Regions from separate parts of the Homo sapiens genome. Here region 2 is linked to region 1. The links are contacts of gene promoters, found by promoter capture Hi-C in blood cells and fetal thymus (Javierre and others, 2016). All regions are on one chromosome and are shown on one strand. The core of a region is centred on a gene start or on the middle of the fragment in contact, and the rest is flanking DNA. Distances in the headings are between cores, read along the strand shown. Region 1 holds the start of CLRN2 (clarin 2). Region 2 has its middle 13 kb from the start of DCAF16.

Evidence for each region. Contacts are between HindIII fragments. The CHiCAGO score rates a contact against its expected background, and 5 or more counts as called.
Region 2: a contact is called between a fragment that was not itself captured here and the fragment with the promoter of CLRN2 in region 1, in 1 of 17 cell types (M1 macrophages). The highest score is 6.5, in M1 macrophages.

The regions. Positions count from the first base shown.
Region 1 is chr4:17,513,271-17,518,180 of GRCh38, forward strand. It overlaps CLRN2 (clarin 2), which reads left to right and starts at 1,895. Exons shown (of 3, transcript NM_001079827.2): 1 at 1,895-2,249. The coding sequence starts at 1,997. The HindIII fragment of the contact is 967 bases long and covers 1,840-2,806 here.
Region 2 is chr4:17,795,482-17,800,391 of GRCh38, forward strand. It overlaps a transcript of DCAF16 not described here. Among named protein-coding and RNA genes, the nearest start is that of DCAF16, 13 kb to the right of the region's middle. The HindIII fragment of the contact is 264 bases long and covers 1,738-2,001 here.

The DNA of each region.
Region 1 (4,910 bases), core at 645-3,144:
AGGCATGAGAGTCACAGACACTTGTCTGGAAGAGTGGGAATTTGAACACAGGTCTTCAATAGCTAGAGTTCCACTTAACCACACCTTTGTTCAGCAAGACAAAGGCTTGTTGGGAATCAAGTGTTTCCCTTAGAGTTTTTCTGAAAACAATTGCTTAACCCTCAAAACACCAAAAGTTGACACAGGTCCCTCACTGACGGCAGAAATATGACTCAATGATATTTACGCAAGTCCTGACTTGTCAAAGCATGCTTAATGTTAAAATAAGAACGTGAACTAACATTATTGATCACTTAATGTGCCAAGCAGTCTTCTGAGCCTTTTATATGTATTCTGTTATTTTTTACCAGAAAAACATTTGCTGTTTCAAAGTCACTGGGATGAAGATGAGCTGTTGTAATTCAAAGACCTGAATTTCAGCCCCAGCACTGACATCCAGTTTTTCATGAGAGAAATGGCTGAAATCGTGCATCTCCTGTTTACCTTAAAGGGTTGCTGGAGCATCAGAGGTGAGCAAGCATATGGTCAAAGCATTTTGCATTTTGTACATGGTAAAGTGCCACTCATCTGTATATATAGTAAGAGACAGGATCTCACTCTGTTACTCAGAGTGGCATGATCATAGCTCACTACAGCCTTGAGCTCCTGGGCTGGAGCAGTCTTCCAGCCTCAGCCTCCAGTAGCTGGGACTACAAATACACGCCATCAGGCCCAACTATTTTTTTTTTTTATTTTTTGTAGAGATAAGGTCTCACTACATTGCCCAGGCTCAGAAATTCTCATTTTTATTTTCATTGTGGAGTGGCCACTGAAGTGAGCCCCAGTTGCGAGGAAGGAAACTGACATTTCCATTAATGTGTCCCTCTGCTTCCTTGACACTCTCCAAGTGAGATTCCTGGGACCCCTATTGGTTAACAGTGCAACTTCCTGAACCCCCCTTCAGGCTTCTGTGACCAACTAAGAAATTTTACTGCTCCACTTTTGCCCAACTTTGCTCCCCAGAGATATGGATAGAGTGACTGTTGCCAGTCTCACATGATGTTAAGTTGATATTCAGGAATAAGGTAAAAGTCAAAATGTCAAAGTCCACAGTATAAGATAGAAAGGAAAGAATATTTCATTCCTAGTATCTACAGATTAAAAGGAAAGCCTAGATCTTCCACTATTAGAAGAGATGAATACCCCAGCAGTGTGGCTACTATTTGCTAATACACTAGAAAAACACTTTTCTCTCCCATTTCAGATAACGTAGAAGGAGGGACGGGTGAGAGCAATGTTAAGTGTTGGATTCCAGGCTACCCCAACAGCCACAAAGTAATTCTAGTCACAGTTTACCCCCAGCAGATTCACACAGTGAGAAATTCATAAGGCCCTATTTACACATTTCAATATTAAAGCCCCAAGAACCGGGGTCATTTGATGGTATTAATAACAGTCCTAAAGATTCTGACAGCAGTGACATTTCAGAGAAAGAAATGCCAGGGCACCCATGCATCAGCGAGATCGACATTTGATACTGCGCATTGTTGGCAATATTCAAGTGCTAATCATTCTGTTTTTGTTTTCCTTCTAACACATGCATTTTTTGAGATTGGTTTGCGTCTCTTAATCTTCAGAGCTACCTGATTTTGCTTATTACTAACTCCTTTATCATTACGAGGTCCACACCAGGGCTATTTAAATACTTGAAACGAGGAACAGTTAAACAGTCTGCTGAAACATTAGTCTAGGAGGAGATATAAGGTTACTTCCTTCAGTAACACACTCCGCTACATAGTCAGGTGAAGATTGTCTCTGTAGAGGCTTCTGGATGTGGTTGTAGGAAGCATGGACTGTGCAAGCTTGCGCTGAAGGAGGACGAGAGGATGGACCTACAACCTTGAAACAGAGTGTTTGGAAGAGCTGACCTTGGAGCAGAGCATTGCCGAGTATCTGAAAGATGTCAATGACCCTCGCTGCTGCTCGGAGACCTTGGGGATGACCTGCACCCACTAGCATGCCTGGATGGTTCAAAAAGGCGTGGTATGGGCTGGCGTCTTTACTCAGCTTCTCCTCCTTCATCCTGATCATCGTTGCCCTGGTAGTGCCCCACTGGCTGAGTGGGAAAATCCTTTGTCAGACTGGAGTGGATCTGGTCAACGCCACAGACAGAGAGCTGGTCAAGTTCATTGGGGACATTTACTACGGGCTCTTCCGAGGGTGTAAAGTGCGGCAGTGTGGGCTTGGGGGCCGCCAATCCCAATTCACGAGTGAGTATATTGGGAGCATGAAAGCTGATTCTAGGCACTCATTTTTGTTAATGTGTAAGAGTGCTTATGTCTCATTGTGGAATTTGGCTGCTGCCTCAACGTCAGGCATAATGTCAAAGTCCACAGTGAGCCAAGGGTTCTGGATCCACATCAAAAAGATCTTTCCTTCCTTCCTTGCTTCCTTTTCTTTTTCTGTAGAGATGTATAGAAACATTAGAAATAAGGATTTGTGCATTTTTGCAGTTTACCTCTATTAATTATGACTATTAAAATATTGAGAGTTTACACGTGTCAGACATTGTAAGCACCTCACGCCACTTGTCTCCTTAAAGCCTTACAACAAAGTTATACAGAAGGAATTGTTAATGTTCCCATTTTCCAGAGGAGTACACTGAGGCTTGGAGAGGTTACATAACTTACCTGAGGTCACCCAGCCAGGAAACAGTAGAGCCGGACTCCAGACCCATGCCACATGACCACAACAAGTGGGTGGAGGCTGCCTGCAGAACTGAACCTTTGGGAAGCATGATGACCCTTTCCACATCTACTTTTGTAAAAGCTTCATAGTCTGAGAAAATGCAAAGGGGCACTGTGCTTGGGTTCTGGAATCAGACTACCCTGGCTGAAACCCCTACTGGAAAGTTTACTGGTGGGGAGACCTCAAGCAAGGCACTTGCCTGTTCTCTGTGAACGTGAGCGGGCACCGACTTTGGCTGGCATTCAGTGTAGCATCAGAGCTGCCCAGGATGTAAGCAGAGCAGTCTGCACAAACAGGAATCCAAGCTGGACTTAGGAACGGGCTTCTGGAAAGGAAAAAACAAAACAGGCAATATTCTGCAAGCCTTTTGAATCGATGAGATCACTGGTGAAAAGTGTCTGCACAAAACCGTAATTAATCAATACCATGCCAATGTAGGGTGATACAGAATTGTATTCATTCCTTGATTTCTATATTTCAGTATTGTAGTAGTTTATAGAAATCTGGCCAAGGTAAATGTCGTATTAAATTTATAAGGACAAAAAGCTGGAACCGTTGACAAATATAATACAAATTGTCATCATTTAAACACACAAAAATTTACATTTGTTATGTATATTCAAGATCAATATGTCTGGGCATATTTATATTTACCTAGCAATTAGATTAGACCCTGGATATTGAACAAATAGCTCCATCAAAATTATAACATAAAACTTGAAAACACACACACATAAACAAATAAAAAAAAGAAATGCTAAAAGCTAACCATGACAACTACATGGACTACTCGATTCTGAACTAGATGCTTTGCTATAAAGGATGTCTTCGGGACTTTAGGGGTCAAGAAAACTTCCCCTTTGCACTCTGAAGGTTCTCTAAACAATCTACTGACAAAAGGCAGATTAATAGGGAAAATGGCTTACACATTTATTAGCATGCATAGGGGAAAAATCACAGAGTGATTGTCCGCTATCTCAATGGGGTACAGGTGGTTGTATCCTCTTCATCTTAGGGGAAAGAGAGATGGGGAAGTGTGGATGATTTTAGGGGACTAGTAAATTATTTTTAGGGAAATTCAATGGGCTTAAAGAACATACAGTGAGCTGGGACAAAGTCTGTTGAGCCCACAGAGCAGACATTGGTTTGTGACAAAAGTCTGTCCAGCTGTGTTAACAGACTTTAGTCTTTCTTCCTGTGATATGGGTACAATTAATGAACACTCAGGGAAGGGACCAGAGGTCTTTTTCTTTGGTAGGTCTGGATGTAGGCAGGTAAGGGAATGTCAGAGAACAACCTCATCCTGTGCTTATGAGACAGACAAAGAATGGAGAGACACGAGGGAGAGGGGAGGCCAGAGAGACCTTGAGACTTCTTCACAAAGCTTCATATTTTAGGGGTGTTGGTTTCTGAACCCCAACAGGTAAATCGTTGAAACTTGAATGGGGTGAGAAGATTAAACAGCAGTCACATGCCAGCATTAACCTAATGACCAGACCCCTGCCATTCCCAGCTCACAGAAATGTAAACTGCTTCGAGTAGGAAGCTGCAAACAAATGCATATTTTGTTTGAGCCTTGGAGGAACTCAGTAAGTACTTCTTGCCTTCCTCCTTCTTCCTTCTTAGAAGGACACCAATGGGAAACATTCCCCTGGGTTCATCTAACGTGGTCTGGTCTGGAAAGCATCAGAACCCTGTGAGAAGCATAAAGGACATTTTATTCTTGTCCCTGAGTAGGAGCGTATTTGAGAAGGTTTTGTTTCCTGCTGCCCTGGGGTTGTCTCAGAGGAGGGTCTGTAAACATCCATTCGCAGTACCTTGGATGTGATTCTCTTTCAAAGCATTCACGAGGAGCCTGGGGCCAGGTTCCTCCTGTGCTTGGCTGGCTTTACCCCAGTACAGCTCAGGGACACTGATAGTGCCAGTCTAGTCTCCTTTAGATTTACAGCTTTTAATTCTAGCACAGTGTAACCTCGAGGCAGCTACGGGGTATATCAGAGCCTCCCACAACCAGGAGTCTGTTTCTCCTGGGGTCTCTTTCTGCCATTCACTATCCATCTGTAGAAAAAAAAAAAAATAATCCCCACAGTCGCAGATCAGTGTAGATGGGGACGTAAGTGAAAATGCTTTGCAAACTCTGGGATGGGGAGGTTTATTGGGTCTCGTTCACAAACAGCCACTTT
Region 2 (4,910 bases), core at 620-3,119, 280 kb after region 1:
TTTGGAACTCATTTATTAGATGTTGCATCTTATTCAGGTTTAAGTTTCTTTTTTGTTCTTGCCTGCTTTTCATCTCTTTGTTCTACTTTTTAAAATTTCTTCAAGTTATTTTCTAATACATCTACTGAATGTTTACTTTTGGTTTCCTGTTTTTCCAATAGCTTTTGTTTTTGGATTGGTCATTTTTTAAAATAGCATCCTGATCCTATTTGATGGAAGCAGTATATTCCTTTCTGAGAATATCACAGCTTCTTTATGTTCATCTTTCATGTTGAAGGTTTCCTCAAATATCTAGTGATCCTTGGCTATCTGTGTACAGTGATTCCAAGTGACTGAAAGCTGTATATGAAGGAGCAGGCCTTGTGGACTCTCAGTTTCACTGTAACAAATAATCGAGGGTCAAGCTGTTTTTTTACTGCTTGTCTTTTTCGGTCAGGTGAGCAGGGCTGGGTATAAGCCCCATTGCCAGATTCTGTAGCCAGGTGGAGAAAAGTGGACTGGAGGCTCATAATGTTCAGAATACTCACATTCTGTTAATCATTTTGTCTTCCATATAGCACATCACTACCATTACCATCCTCCCCCTGTCCTCAGTTCTAAGTCTGTTTGGTTTAATTTCTCCAGACAATAAGGCTTCAGTCATCTGCTAGAGAGATAGCTGCCTGCCTACAAAAGAAGAGCAAAAATAAATGTTCAAATAATCCCCTTGTTTCAACTTTCTTTATTACTCCCACCTTCCAGGGTACCTTGTGCCTTTAAATCCTCAAGTCTTTTGGGGGTTCTGGAAGGCAAAGATAGGTGTTCCAAATTTGTGAACCTTTTCTGTGATGAAGAATGGGTATCATAACTGTGCTACCTATCGAGTATTTTTTGTTTTTAAAGAGTGATATACTTTCCCTTCATGGTAAAGAAGAGTGAGAAAGTAACTGCTTAAAACACACACAGATGGCCAGGTGCGGTGGCTCACGCCTGTAATTCCAGCACTTTGGGAGGCTCAGGTGGGTGGATCATGAGGTCAGGAGATTGAGACCATCCTGGCCAACATGGTGAAACCATCTCTACTAAAATACAAAAAATTAGCTGGGCATGGTGGTGCGCACCTGTAGTCCCAGCTACTCAGGAGGCCAAGGCAGGGAAATTGCTTGAACACAGGAGGTGGAGATTGCAGTGAGCCGAGATCGCACCACTGCGTTCCAGCCTGGCGACAGGGTGAGTCTCCATCTCACAACGACAACAAACCACAAACCCAAACTACCTGCTGTTGAGACAGCATTTAAAAAATTTGTGTTTGCAAATATTGTAATGGTTATGTGGTTATTTTAGCTAAATACCACGTGTCTCCTATAAAAACTCTCATATCTGCAATTGGGCCTCCTCTTCTGACACTCAACAACAGTTCTAAGAAATAAATAAATAAATATATAAGAAATACAACTTGGGTCAACTATGTGTGAGCCTTCCTTGCCCCCAGTCTCTTATTATTAAATATTATTATTTTAGAGATGGGCGGTTGCTCTGGTGCCCATGTTGGAGTGCAGTGGCATGACCATAACCCACTGCAACCTCAAACTCCTCAGCTCAAGCAATCCTCCCAATTTAGCCTCCTGAGTAGCTAGGACTACGGGTGTGCACCAGCACTGCTCCTGGCTACTAGTCAATTACTTAGACATAAGAAAACAACACATACTGGAAAGAGTCAAGACAGTTCCTGGGAACAACTACATAGACTAAAACCCAAGCTTAATCCATGCCACTAACATATTTATAGGGTTGCAGATAAAATGCAGGAAACTAAATTTGAATTTCAGATAAATAACATAACTTTTTTTCTGGTATATGTGCCATATTTCATTATTTTTCTGAAATTCAAATGTATTCGGGTGTCCTGTATTTCTTTTTGCTACATCAGGCAACCCAACCCATTTAAAGAAACGTGTCCCAAGTAGGATGTGACAACACAGAAAAACTGCATTCAAAGAAGGAAACTGGGGTCTGGTCCAAAGCTTTCAAGCCATGGGAGTCTACTTAAGTACCAAGTAGGTAGACAGGGATCAATATCATATAACACACTTTGCAGTAAGTCTACATGGAATGCATTGTCTGTGGCCAACATTAATGCCAGCTTTCAATTGATTCAGAAATTAGAGTTCTTCAGGTAGTGGCTGCACCCTTCTTTCACCAGAGCTCTGCCAGTCTATCAGGCCATTCTGGTTACTCAGGGTGCAACCAGAAAGCCCACCTAGGGTCTTTTTTGATGGAAGATGGCCATGCCCTTGGGCTGTTCCACTTGTTTGGGTACCTCTCAAAGAAGTTGCCCCTACTGGTCCATTGCTTAATTAATTTATTGTAAACCAAAACCATCAGCTGATACATTGGAGTGTCAGGTGCCACAGCTGATACCATAGATGGAAGGGTAGTATCAGGCATAGGCTGAGCAGTTAACCCAAACTTAACAATTTCTCCCCAAATAAAACTATAGTACCAGCTCCTTATTTTGCAACACTCATTTGAGGAGTTTCATCTGGTTTCTGTTGCTAATTTGAGAAACTAGCTTGGTTTATGTGTATACTAGGAAGTCAGTTTTAATCTTGTTAAGCTAACCAGTATCCTGAGTCCCTCCTGAATGATTGTTGTTATATAGAGCCTAACTCCCCTAATGATCCCAGGAATTTTCATATCACGTGTCAGAATCTTCCTAAATAAACTGCCCAAATTCCAGTCAACTTCGTTTTATGATTCAACTTGAAACTGTTGCTAACGTTTTTAACTGACTCCACAGTTTAGAAGAAATAACCCTATCGCTGTCTTCCTGTTACACTGTTATTTTCCTTTTTTTTTTTTTTTTTTTTTATACCAGGTACCAGTGTAACACCAGCACTTTGGGAGGCTGATGTGGGAGGATCACTTGAGCTCAGGAGTTCCTGACCAGCCTGAGTGAAACTGCCTCTACAAAGAAATACAAAAATTGGCCTGTGTGGTGGTGTGCACCTGTAGTCCACAGCTACTGATGAGGCTGAGGTGGGAGGATGGCTTGAGCCCAGGAGGTCGAGGCTGCGGTGAGCCAAGATTATGCCCCTGCACTCCAGCCTAGGCAAGAGCGAAACCCTGTGTCAAAAAAATAAAAAAATAATAATAATAATAAAAGAAAACCAGGCATTCATTTTCCAGAGCTCATTGAGAATAGCTGGTCATAGCTCTCACAGAAGATGGGAAGCCAGCAAGTGTCAGGTCACTGTGGTATATCCTCATCCTTTCCATTTCTTGGTCTCAGTTGCAAACTTAAGTCTCACTGCGGCTGCTAATTGAAAGGAAGAGCTTGGCAAACTGCATGGAATTAGCAGACTCAAATATGTAGTCATTAACTCAACTGTATTTAAAATTATTTGAGACACATCATAGACATTTTTCTTTTAGCAACAGCAAGTTGACATAGAAGTACTGGTGGTTGGTCCAGCTAATGTAACTCCCTCAGTCCAATGGGTATCACTGGCGGACAGATACGTTACCAGCTTGCACAGTTAACTCATGAAGTCTGAGAAGTTATCCATACTTCTCAGGCTGTTCTATATGTCCTAGCTACCTGAGCAAAACACTTTTGGCCCTGATCTTTGTGCCACTACCTTGTGATTAGCAGATATAATTTAAATCTGGATACAAAATATCTATATATTTTCTCCATTTCCTTGGCTGAGTATCCGTTGTGGGGGTTTAATTGAAGTCTGCCCTCCAGATGAATCTTCATTATACTTGGATGGCTGCTCCATTCAATTCTTTTATATGATTCTCCACTATAAGCTATTTTCAATATGTGAAGGGCCAACATATGGATTAGGGTTTAGGTTTATTTAATATGACCCTAGACAGCAGAAATGGCTTGGGGTAACATATAGGTTCATATATTTTAAAACTAATTTCCTATGTGTAGTAATCTTATTTAGTTTTGCATTCCCAGTGTCTGCACTAGAGTAGGCACTTCTCCATAGCAATATTGGATGAATGGCTAAATTTCTAACAAGAGATATTTAAAACTAACAGGCTGCTCCAAAAGACATATTCTCTAACACTGGAGCCAAAAGTAGAAAGCCAGATGCAAGCCAACTTACGCATCAGAAAATAACCCAAGTGACTTCTAAAGTCTTTAAATGCTTTAGCTATTTACACTATCAAAACATTTTCATCAGAGACTTTTTTTTTAAAATATGGACAGGTGTGATAGAAGACCCAGCAGGAAGGGCTTCTATCCCCTAGAGGGGACCTATCATATGCCCTCCTGCCATGCATGTATGGATTTTTTTCTTTTCTTAGGAAGCAGATGGGATTAAAAGACGTGATTATGGTCTTTGAGGCTCAAGGTATCTGGACTGTTTTAATAAAAATGTTGCCTATGGCTGGGCACGGTGGCTCATGCCTGTAATCCCAGCACTTTGGGAGGCTGAGGTGGGTGGATCACCTGAAGTCAGGAGTTAGAGACCAGCCTGACCAATTGAGAAACCCCATCTCTACTAAAAATACAAAATTAGCTGGGCGTGGTGGCACATGCCTGTAATTCCAGCTACTCGGGAGGCTGAGGCAGAATTGCTTGAACCCGGGAGGTGGAGGTTGCAGTGAGCCGAGATTGCGCCATTGCACTCCAGCCTGGGCAACAAGAGCGAAACTCCATCTCAAAAAAAAAAAAAAAAAAAAAGTTGCCTATCTGCACTGAGAAAGTAAAAGACAGTTAATGTCCACTGGTTTAGAAATAGTTTCCTTACTCCTTTGATAAATATTTCTATAAATAGAGGATAAAATAATCTTTTTATCTTAATTATGGTGACTGCATTTAACAGAAGCCAACATAGGGAGTGCAAAGGTAGTAAATTCATTCCCAAACCCAGTGTTTATGCCACACAAAAAGTTAACTTAAGGCTTAT